Regions from separate parts of the Homo sapiens genome. Here region 1 is linked to region 2. The links are contacts of gene promoters, found by promoter capture Hi-C in blood cells and fetal thymus (Javierre and others, 2016). All regions are on one chromosome and are shown on one strand. The core of a region is centred on a gene start or on the middle of the fragment in contact, and the rest is flanking DNA. Distances in the headings are between cores, read along the strand shown. Region 1 has its middle 42 kb from the start of CCR3. Region 2 holds the start of CCR2 (C-C motif chemokine receptor 2).

Region 1 (6,335 bases), core at 798-3,297, 70 kb before region 2:
TGTGTTGTCTTCTAAGTTTGGTCCCCTTGCTGAGGCAAATCATTACAGTCATGGTATTTGGCATGTAGATGCCAGTCTAGAGTAGGGGCTGGCAAGCTTTTTCCTAAAGGGCCAGATAGTAAGTATTTTAGGCTTTCAAGCCAGCTGGTCTCTGTCACAACTACTCAACTCTGAAGTTGTAGCAAGAAAGCAGCCACAGACAACATGTCAGTGCATGGGCACAGCTGTGTTCCAGTAAAACTAGTTTTCAAACACAGGCACCTACACACTGGAGTTTGCTAACTTCAGATCAGGAAAATACAGTTTTCTCCCTTTTGGTACAGAGAGGCACCCAAAGAAGCAGTTTGTCTCCAGCTGTCAGGAGCAGAGTACACGCTGCCATCCTGCCTGGGAGTGATGCTACTTTCAGGTGATTTGCCTCACTGTAATCTGCAGGGACCTTGTGACTGCATCACCTGACAGGACATCACTTTGGTCCACATGGTTAATATTGTGCTGAGAGGACCTGGGAAACGGGAATAACAAAAACCTTCAATGTCTTGATAAAACACACGGCTGACAGAGAGTGAAAGATAAAGCCGGAGAAAATATCAGAGTCTCCAACTTCAGGCAAGAGGTGAGGTCCAGTGAAAGCAGATAGCCTCAGTGTGTGGAGTCCATGCCTGGTCTCCTTCCCTGTGCCACTGTTTACGCTGTTCATGAGCCTCTGAGAAATCATCTGGCTGCCATAGGAAGGGTGACCCAGCATGTGCTATTTTCCAAGTTTCTTCCATCCTGGGGGGCATTTTGGTGAGAATTCACATGAGATATGAACATTTTTAGGTTTGGGTCTCATTCAAATAAATCCATTGACATACTCCTCCAAATCTTGATAACAATTTTCCATTTAATTCCTTCTGTCTTCCCTTACATCTAACCATATATAATAAACACTTTCTAGAAATATGTGTAGATTCTGACCCTTGGTGATCTCTCCTTCGAAGCAAAGAGGACACTATGATAAACACCTTGATTTCTGCCACCTGGGAGGTGTCTTCTCCACTTGTCCTTTAGGGCTACCCCTGAGAGGGGCTGAATCTAACACAATCTACCTCAGGTTGGTGCAAGCAAAGTGCAGAGTCCTCTATCCATAAGACAGGCATGAGTGTTTTCATCCTCAGACAGATCATCGCAGCCAACTTCCTGGGAGGCCACAGGTCCAGGTGAAGGGAGAGGATGGCAGTTGTTGGGACTAGGGATGGGATAGGCATGAATAACCTGCCCATGCTGCCTTTCGAACCTGTGTGGATTACATCCTATATAATCCCACTTCCCCTTTATGATGCAGTGTTATTGGGTCTCTCTGTGGCAAAGTAGGTCAGGTGGCAGTCAGTTCATAATAAACAACCTGAGTGTCATGGTAAGCTGGTGTCTCATAGTCAAACTCTCAGAGTCCCCTGGAGTCCAGTAACAACCCAGGACTTATTTTTTTGCTGAAAGGGATGTAGCATTTCTTCGCCCTCCAAGGGGCTGCTGCCATGCTCCTGTCCAGGCTTGTATCCAAAATTTGACTCAAGGAGTTCAAGAATAGCAAAAACGGGTGTCATCGCAAAGTAGAATACCCAGTAGTAGTAGTAGCAGCAGCAGTAATAGCAGTAGTAGCAGTAATAGTAGTTGTTGTTGTTGCTGTTGTGATTCAGGAAAAACTCCCAGAATGGAAGTACACAGGTCTGTGAGATGAAGGGGGTACCAAGTACCCACCAGGATAAATGGACACAGACCCTCTTCCGAGCACATCATTATGAACTTTCAGAACAACAGGGATAAATATATTGAGAGCTTTTAAGAGGGGGAAAAACAGGTAACAGAAAGGAATAGAAATGGACTTGACATCAGATTCTCAATGACAACATTGGCTGATACAAGACTGTGGGGCAACAGCATCACAGTTTTGAGAAAATATTATGTTCAGCCCAGAAATCTCTACAGAGCCAACGTATGAGATCCACTGAGGCTTGAATATAGATATTTTTAGACACAGAAGGATTTTGCAATTTACCTTCCATTTACCCATTCTCAAGAAGAGACAAAATATATGCTTTAGCAAAATGAAGAGGTAACCAAGAAAGAGGAGATCCTAGGATCTTAGAAATGAGTTCAACACAGGACAGTGGCAAAGGAATCTCCAGGACCTCCACAGAAGCCTGTCCAGACTGGTATTGAGAAAGGACATGAAATTTGTAGGTTTCGAATATTTTAAAAAATTATTGTTGGGCCCATGACAGATCAAATTTGAGCATTTTGGAAATTGGTGATAAGTATTTTTACAAAGTAAGCAGATGGAAAAAATCAAAAGAAACTACTATTAACTCCAAGAATATAAAACATTAGCTCAACAGTGAATAATACTTATGTGGTCATAATAACATGAACACTGACTAGTCATTTAACCAGAAACTGTCAAAAAACCATATTGAGAGGATGTTGGGAGGGGAAGGAAGTGTAAGCTAAATCCTCACCTACAAGAACAGGAAATCAATAAATTCTGTCTAAAATTGATACATTATGAAGTAGCAATCAATATAAGCATGTTACTTAACACTTAGGGCAGCACCAGAGAAACAGCCAACAGAGTTGAAAGTGGTTGCCTCATAGGAGTGGGCAGGGGTGGGGAGGGGATGGGGCAGGAAATGCTATTTCTAATTTCTTAACTATGCACTATTACATCTTGATAACTTTTTCTTTTTGGACGGGGTCTCGCTCTGTCACTCAGGCTGGAGTGCAGTGTCATGATCATGGCTCACTGCAGCCTCAACCTCCCAGGCTCAAGCAATTCTCCTGCTTCAGACTCCCAAGTAGCTGGGACTACAGGCGCACACCACCATGTCTGGCTAATTTTTGTATTTTTTTATAGAGACAGGGTTTTGCCATGTTGCCCAGGCTGGTCTCAAACTCTAGGACTCATGTAATCCACCTGCTTTGGCCTCCCAAAGTGCAGGACTACAAGGCATGAGCCACCTCAACTGGCCTGTAACTTGATAACTTTTAAAAACTTGATGTTATTAGGTGAAGAAGTAAGAGCAAAAATATAATAAAATAAGAATAGAAGAGTATGATTAAACTATAAACACAATTCCTTACTGTGTACCAGACACTGACAATTGAAAGACATAAACACAAACTTGGCCATTCACTCCTTAGTAACCAAACACAGAGAAAACACTTCCCATTATAGATGCTAGAATATTATCAGATTATTAGAGCAATACTAAACTAGAGGCCAACCAACTACACATTTTGGGAAATGTTGAATGGTCCAATGTTAGCTAAAAATCAGTACCTGGCCACGCTAAGGCCAAAACTGTCACCATCATAGAAAAAATTGTTGGGATTTAAGAACAATCTGAAATTGTATTTTAAAATGTAATTATAATTGCAACTGTATTGTTAAAATTGACTGCTCTGATTTTTAAAGTTTGATATCTAGGTGAGGAAACCACCACTTCTCAGCACTGTCAGCATTCCACGTTCCTGTGGTCACTATGCGGCAAGTGTAAGATACAAGTCAGAGGCCTCCAAGTGAGGTCGGTAGGAGGGCAGGGTTTGGTGTTTACTGTGCCAGTATGAGGGAGTGCTCATGATGATGTCACCAAGATTTTCAGCTTTCCTTTCTTTATCTCTCTGGGCAATCAGCTAAGGTAAAAGCATCTCTCCTCTTCAACTCCTGGAATTAAAGATACCATCATGAATGATAATACAATTTCATTGTTTGTGCACTACTTAAAGAAGTCTTCTGAGTATGTTCAGAAGCTCTCTATTTGGACACCTCTTAGGCAACACTTCCAATCCTCTTGGGCTCTTGTGCTGTGGGCTCCAGCCAGCCTTGCACAGCTGTAGCCGGATGTGCCTGGCCTGGGCCTGGGCCATGCCTCTCATCCCTATCTCAGGGCTCCTCCACTGACACTCAGCACCCACACATGTGCAAGCTGCAAATGCAGGGGACCTCATGCCTAGTGGGGCAAAGCTTTGACCAACGGGTGACCGGATCTGATGGGGAAAGGGATCTCTTTTTTCCCCTAGGTTCATAATCCTAAGAAGCATCTCACAGCTCGTCAGGCAGTCCTGAGAGGCCTAGCAAGCAGCTCCCCTGGTTGGGTGCATGTGCATCCTCATTCTGGCCCTCTCTCCTTTCCTGCTTTACTCCCCTGTCCCTCACCTCTACTGTCTCAATCTCAGCCTCCACCTTCTGGGGAACCCAAACTAAGACAAAGGCTTATGATTATTGTCTTGACTTTTATTTTTAAATTTCTAGTATTTTTCCATGCACATGGGATTCCATAGAAGTACTTGAGAAGAGTTTGTTCTGAAGCCTTGAATCTAATAATGTGCCATGGAGCAATGTGATTGGCATTAGATACTTTTTAAAAAAAAATCTCAGATTCCATCTGCATCTTGGCTTCCACTGCACACACACCTCTGGAGGAGGAGGATCTTGACGGCAGTATCGGGTCGGAAATATTTGCACTCTCAAGATGACTTCTTCAGCTGGTTCCCGTAAATGAGCTATTTTTCCACAAGCAACTCTTGGTTGTTAGCAAGTTCTATGATGCCAGTACTGTTTTCTGTAAAGTTTATGATTACACTTTCTTTTGATCAAATGGCTGTTCCAAAGCATCATGCTTCCTATGCCACTGGAACATTTTGGATGAATGTGCATCAAGCCAGGTCCACTATTTTGTGTATCTCATATAGTTTACCTTTGGCTAAAAACCAAATGCTGCAAGTGCCCTTTTACCTTTTTGCTTACAACCAGCAATTCTGCTACATGATGCTATGTTGTAGTTACTTTCTGAAAACACAACTGAAATGTGTGAACAAAACACTGCATGCTCATGATTTCTAAATCACTCATAGCTTCACTATGTGCTTCCCATTGTCATTGACAATTATACAATTTTTTCCTTTGCTGATTTTCCATTCAATAAATATTTCTTCCTTCATTCACTGTGTTGTTTTTGTATAAGACCCGGACACCTCTTCACAACCAAGTAAAGCCAAAGCATGGTAGAATTCAGCGTTATTCCACTATGCTGTTGAACTTAAAAAATATATATATAGGTCGGGCGTGGTGGCTCACGCCTGTAATCCCAGCACTTTGGGAGGCCGGGGCAGATGGATCATCTGAGGTCAGGCGTTCGAGATGAGCCTGGCCAACATGGTGAAACCCCATCTGTACTAAAAATACAAAAATTAGCCAGGCATGGTGGTGCGCACCTGCAGTCGCAGCTACTTGGGAGGCTGAGGCAGGAGAATCGCTTGAACCCGGGAGGCGGAGGTTGCAGTGAGCTGAGATTGTGCCACTGCACTCCAGCCTGGGTGAAAAAGCAAGACTCTGTCTCAAGAAAAAATATATATGTGTGTGTATATATATATACTAAAAAATATAAAAATATATATTCTGTAGTTGTCAGAGACAACAGGAAGCACACGGTGAGGCTATGAGTGATTTAGGAATCATGAGCGTGCAATGTTTTGTTCACACCTTTCAGTTGTGTTTTCAGAAAGTAACTACAACACTGCATAATGCAGCAGAATTGCTGGTTGTAAGCAAAAAGGTAAAAGGGCACTTGCATCATTTGGTTTTATATCTATCTGGTTGTCTTTGAACGTCTAAATATAAGGGGCATCAGACACCATATCAGCACACTTAGTATTATTGTCTGTAATCCTTCTGTGCACAGCAGAATGCACAGCAGGCAAATGTTTTCTAGGATCTCTAGCTAGAAATCATAGTCTGGATGAATCTCAAAATCCTTCAACTTCTTTTCTTTTTTTATTTTGTTGAGACAGGGTCTTCTCACTTTGTCACCCAGGCTGGAGTGCAGTGCTGTAATCATGTCTCACTGCAGCCTCGACCTTCTGGACTCAAGCGATCCTTCCACCCCAGCCTCCCAACTGGCTGGGACTATAGGTGCATGCCACCACACCCAGCTAATCTTTGTATTTTTTGTAGAGAAGGGGTTTTGCCATATTTTCCAGGCTGGTCTCAAACTCCTGGGCTCAAGAGATGGGCCTGCCTCAGCCTCCCAAAGTGCTAGGATAACAAAATCCTTCAACTTCTGAGGATGGGTGGCAACCTCTAGCAATCACTGTGACAAGGTTTTTGTTTACATTTTAGCCTTTGTATTTTCAATAGTTTCGAAAGCAAGGCTTATGTCTTTGTAAAATATTCATATGAAGTAGCATGTTTCAAAGTTTGATTCATGAGATAAAATATGTTCTGAAGCTCTCCTTTTTCTGAACACTTCCTTTTTTTCTTCATAACTTATGTTTCTTTGCACGTCTGGATCAAAGAT
Region 2 (6,161 bases), core at 3,267-5,766:
GAGACAAAGTTGAACTTAGAAGATGGAGGAGAAATTCTTATCTGCCCTCTGCTAGTTGACACTTCCTTTCCAAGAATCATTTGCAGTTGCTGGGCTTTCTTGCTGTGACTCTATGCCCTGTTGTGTTACTTTTTCATTTGTGACAAAAACAGTGGTAATAGTTTGCTTCATTTTTATTATGAAGACTTGACCAGGATAGGTAGGAACATAATTACTGCTTTTTCTGTGGGCATCATATTGGTCCAGATCATGTTTAACCAGAATTGAAGATGTAAAATCCTAGAACTCACTAATCTATTTTAGTAGGTCACAGGAAGCATGCAAACCATAAAAACCGCAATGAACCAAAAGCATCTGTGTTGACAAGAGGCAAGAATTTCTCTATTTTCTAAAGGCACTAACTGAACAAATCTATTGCCCATTACTTAGGAAATTGCTAAGGGCATCGTTAAAGTACTTCAGGCTGTTGAAAAACCTTTTCTGTCTTCTTGCCCCACCACCAATTCTCTCTAGCTATGCTTTCTCTCACATGTTCTTGCCATCCATGGAGTGGCAGAGAGGTTCTGAGTACAACTCTAACTTTCAGTTTCAATGGCCTAATCCCCAACTCAACTGCTGACCTTGAGTGTAAAAATAAACAAGATCTTAAACATCTTAGGGCCAGCATTCTGGGTCTTCTTTTGTTATTTGGGGAGCATAAACTATTCTCATATCATTGGCTTGCAGAAAAATTGAGCTTCTCCTCTTCCTTGCCCCATGTCACCTTGAGGTGACCACAGCCCTGCCTTCTATGTAATCCTGCTTGGTCAGCAGGCACATCAGAGCTCAGTGGCTTGTGACATACTTTCCTTCAAGCCTGCTCGAAGGGCCATACTCATCATTGAGACTGGGAACCTTAGAAACCATGAACCCAGTGCCAATGGGTAGATACAGAATTCTCAAACTCATGAAAAAACATCCTTTTTAACTCTCTCCGTGTGCATAAAGAATTCTAAGATGTACTGATCAAGATTCCCAATTTTCTAACTATCTATTAATATATGGACGAGGTAAGAAGAAAGTTGCAAGAAAAAAATTTGTTTGACTTGACGGTTGTGTGGTTATTTGCCACACTCCCCCAGATCCACTCTGAGTCCCAGGATGCTGATTTTAGGGGCTACATTGCCTAGACTGTCCATTATTCCCTCTTCCCATCTGGTTCAGTCACTGGGAAGCACTGGTAGGAGGTCAGAGTGGGAGAAGGAGGTTAGGATACTTTCTGCCCCTGCTGTCCTACTGCTTTGCTGAACTTCTAGCAGTGGCTGAGCCATCAACCTGCAGCTCTCAATTCCAGCTGTCTGTAGCACTCAAGTGGTATTGTTTATTCTTTTGATCCTTCTAGCTGTTAAGGAAGAAAAAAATAATTTTTTCCTCAATGCTCATAAGTTCTTGGAATGGACCCCTGTAACAAAAGACAGATTAACACGAGAAAAGTTTATTAACGTACATATTTTATACGTACATAGGAGCTATCCAGGGAATGAATAATTCTTAAAAAGGTGACTTTGAATTCCAGCTCATATAGCATCTTCAACAAAGTTCAGTAACATTTTAGAGATATGACAAGACAAAGAAAATGAACTTTGAGCCTCTAGGGACAGTGACTTGTAGGAAGGCAAAAGGAATAAATGGAGGTAAAGGCTGGTTAGTAATACTTGTTAATGAAGATTCCTCTGGTGCCATCTCCAGGTCCACAAGGATTTAAATTTGTCTTCAGTGGTGAACCTTTGTTCACCCTGGCAGAAGGTGTGGAGGGGGGTGCAGATCCGTTTTGTCTTTGTAAGTCTATATCCTGCTTTTAGACAAATAAAGGGAGGGAAAAGAGCTTTCCTTCATCTGCTTCTTAATTGCCTTCAGCTCAACAATCCTTATGCAAAAGAGGTACATTTTAGGGTGTCAAATTCTGGTCTCCCACAAAGCATAGGGATGACAGACCACCTCACCATCCCTGTTGCTTCTTTTAAGCCTGCTCACCCCTCCAAAAATATTTTCATTCTATACTGTCTCTTCAAAATCTCAGCGGAGGGTGCCCTCTGTTATCCTGCCCTCTGTGTCAGTATAAGCCAAAGGTTTGAATCCTGGCTCTGCAACTATCTACCTCTGTGCCTCTCCTTGTTTATGAAATTACAGGGCTGGAGACAAAGATCACAATGTGAAGACAAAATTGGAGAGCGGTCCTAATCAGCCAGAGCAAAATTTCTGGCTCTTGCTCTTCCCCATCCTGGGTTGAATCATAGGAACAGGTGGCAAGATGCCAGGGTCAGGAGATTCCAGAAGTGGCAGCAAGCTCAGTGTTACCAGGTCAGGGATGACCTGTCTTATTATTGAAATCTCAGAGATATGCTCCAATTCCGGCCCAGAGACACATTGAGAGACAACTGGGGAACTTGCTATGTTCCTGAACAGGCAATGAGCTGTCTTCCAAGAAAAAACCTGAGACCCTTCAAGTCTCAGGTCTTACTTAGCACATATACCAGGTCTTACACAGGACACATGGTTACAACTGACTGAAATCTGGGCTGGGTGTAGGAGCTCACACCTGTAATCCCAGCCCTTCAGGAGGCTGAGGCAGGCAGATTGCCTGAGCCCAGGAGTTCGAGACCAGCCCGGGCAACATGACAAAACCCCATCTCTACAAAAAATAGTCAGGCATGGTGGCATGCACCTGTAGTCTCAGCTACTTGGGAGGCTGAGATGAGAGGATTGCTTGAGGTTGAGACTGCAGTGAAGCATGATCATGCCACCGCACTCCAGCCTAGGCAACAGAGCAAGATCTTGTCGCAAAAGAAAGCAAAAACACAACATAACACAACAACAACAACAACAACAACAACAGCAAAAAAGCCAACTTCTTGAAATCTGGAAAGGACACCTGGACTGCCCTGAGCATTTGATTGTTGTTGGCTCTAGCAGTGGATGCATCCTTCAACCTCTGGCACTCTGCAGGGCTCAGACTGTTCTGTTCTGTTTGTTACCTGTGGAGTGCCTGCCAGACCCTGCTCTAGCTGCTTTAGGTCCATTTACCCTCATAGACCCCCAGTCTTGTTATTCATATTTCATATTTGGGAAATGGAAACTTAGAAACTTGCCAAGTCCACAGCATGAGATCCTGCCTCCGGTGTCTGCTGGATTCCAGAAAGTGCCAGGGGCCAACTTAGATGACACCATGTTCTCTGCACAATCTTAGGAATGCTCCTAGTCTGATGTCCCCATTGCAAAATTTACATTATCTTTTAACAAAACGTCTTTCCAAGGAGGGGCATTTAAAATAACTGAGGTTCTTCTTGCTAAGGACGTTCCTGACACAAGAGATAATTTAGCATTTCCTTTTCATTAAAAAGTTTGAAATCCTGTAATTTGTGATAATGTGGATGAACCTAGAGGATGTTAAGTGAAATAAGCCACACACAGATAGACAAATACCACGTGATCTCACTCTTATGTGGAATTTTTTTTTAAATAAGTTGCTTAGCCGGGCATGATGGCACACACCTGTAATCCTAGCTACTCAGGAGGCTGAGGTGGGAGGATGGCTTGAACTCAGAAGGTGGAGGTAGCAGTGAGCTGAGACTGTGCCAGTGCACTCCGGTCTGGGTGACAGAATGAAACCCAATTTAAAAAAAAAAAAAAAGTTGCTATCTTAGAAAAAGACAGTAGAGCAGTGGTTACCAGAGACTGGGGAGGAAAGAGAGGAGGTGAGAATGGGCAGCAGTTGATCAACGGGTACAAAGTTACCATGAGATAGGAGAAACAAGTGCTGGTGCTCTGCTCCAAGTAGGGTGACGGTAGTTAATAATGAATTCTGTATATATAAATAGCTAGAAGAGAGGGTTTTCAATATCATTATTATTTCAAAAGAAATGATAAATGTTTCAGAGGATGGATATGTAATTACCCTGATTTGATCATTGCACAATGTATACATGTAGCAAAACATCACATTGTGTCCCATAAATATATACAATTATTATGTGAATTAAATAAAAAAAAATTTTAAAGTCTTATCTAAATGAAATTTCTAACCAGATTCTGAATCCATGATACCACTGAAACCAGCACACATGATCGCAGTAAAACCTCATTATACTTCCTCCACTATCACCAATACCCTTTATTCTCTGGAACATGAAACATTCTGTTGTGCTCATATCATGCAAATTATCACTAGTAGGAGAGCAGAGAGTGGAAATGTTCCAGGTATAAAGACCCACAAGATAAAGAAGCTCAGAGTCGTTAGAAACAGGAGCAGATGTACAGGGTTTGCCTGACTCACACTCAAGGTTGCATAAGCAAGATTTCAAAATTAATCCTATTCTGGAGACCTCAACCCAATGTACAATGTTCCTGACTGGAAAAGAAGAACTATATTTTTCTGATTTTTTTTTTCAAATCTTTACCATTAGTTGCCCTGTATCTCCGCCTTCACTTTCTGCAGGAAACTTTATTTCCTACTTCTGCATGCCAAGTTTCTACCTCTAGATCTGTTTGGTTCAGTTGCTGAGAAGCCTGACATACCAGGACTGCCTGAGACAAGCCACAAGCTGGTGAGTTGTAGGCATTTTTTCCATTACTTTCTGATTCATAGGCTCAACGCACCTCAAAGCTGGAAATGCCGGGTCTGGGTACACCCTGGGGAACTGCAAAGCCTGCACACTTGGGGGGAATGATCAAGATGAGAGGCAGGGGTGGGGATGGCATGTGCACCAGGAGATGTTAGAGAAACCCTGAGGAAGAGCAGCGTGCAGCAGGTGATGGGGGAGAGTGGGCAGCAAGCGAGGCCAGGACAGCCACTCTGCTCAGTCACCAGTCCACACACCCAGGGGCTCACTCTGCCCCTCTGAGCACCCAAGGACGTTAAAGAGCTGGAACTGTTAGTCTAAATATAGGACCATCCAAGCTCTGAACCAAAATGTGTCCCTTGCCTCAACTCAGGAGATCCACAGAGGCAGAAGTAAGGAATTTATTTTCTGAAAGATAGATTTCTATCAGTTCTGGGTGACATGTTCTGACACTTGAAATGACACCTAGGACAGCACATTTCAGGCATCTTGCTCATTGTTCACTGTAGTAGAAGCTACATGCTAGCCAGTTGTAAAAATGAAATTAAGTAATGTGTGCACAGCATTTAACATAGCATCTGAGCTTCAGGAGCACTCAATTAATGACCACAGTTGTGATTCTTTAGGCAGATGCATTTTTTTCCAACTTTGATCAGAGGTCTTATTTAGCTTCTCCAGATTTCAAGAATCTGGCTCAGTGATATGAAATACAAGACTTGTGAAAAGTGTCAATTGCAAGAGAAATGGAAGGATAAAGTATACAGGTGGGTGGAAAAGAAATTCACAGTCACTGCCAGAAAAAAAATTCTTGAGAATCAAGTCCTGATGATGTTAGGGCTTATAGTTCTTATTATAAAGAGTTTTATGTACTCATTCAGTGAACATTTATTGGTGCCTCCTTTAGCCAGGTACTATCATAAGAGCTGAAAATAGAAGCATAATCCAGTCCTTGATCTTGAGGAACATGCTGTGTGTAGCAGATAACATAATAAGTGCTTATCTAGATGCATGCAGTGTTATGTGATAAGAGTAATATGACAGAGGATACAGATTAGGCTTCACAGAGAAGGGGGATTTGAGCAGGAGGTATTGAAGGGTGAATAGAAGCTCACCAATCATTTTGGGCAGAGGGGCAAGGACCTGCAAAACCACTGAAGCATGAAGGAAATGGTGAGTTTAGGGAAAATGAAGAGAAGATGGCTGTGACTGAAGCACAGGATTTGGGATTGGAGAAGGGACTGGAGGTGAGGCTGAAAAGAGGCAAACTCAGAAAAGATGTTGTGCTGGGCAGTCTGGACATTATCTTTGAAGCCCACCACATATAAGTCATAGGGCTACTGGAGGTTTTAAGCTAAGAGTGACTATTCAATTTCAACTTAAGAGAAGATAGGTTGAGAGGGAACATGGCTTGAGATGAGCCATGAGCAAAGGAAAGACTACAACAAAGCCAGGAGTGAGGAGTGTGTGAAGCAAGAAAGTGACAGTTGAAAGCAGTGCAGAGGGGATGAATCTGAGAGGCATCTATGAGGTGGAACTCAAATGACATGATAATAATACAGGGCA

What was found. The method cuts DNA at HindIII sites, captures the fragments that hold promoters and counts their contacts. A CHiCAGO score of 5 or more calls a contact.
Region 1: a fragment that was not itself captured here is called in contact with the fragment with the promoter of CCR2 in region 2 in 1 of 17 cell types (monocytes); the score reaches 5.0 in monocytes.

Annotation. Positions count from the first base shown.
Region 1 is chr3:46,281,608-46,287,942 of GRCh38, forward strand. No RefSeq gene overlaps it. Among named protein-coding and RNA genes, the nearest start is that of CCR3, 42 kb to the left of the region's middle. The HindIII fragment of the contact is 3,907 bases long and covers 95-4,001 here.
Region 2 is chr3:46,349,595-46,355,755 of GRCh38, forward strand. CCR2 (C-C motif chemokine receptor 2) reads left to right here and starts at 4,517. Exons shown (of 2, transcript NM_001123396.4): 1 at 4,517-4,583. RefSeq lists an enhancer at 634-783. The HindIII fragment of the contact is 10,451 bases long and covers 1-6,161 here.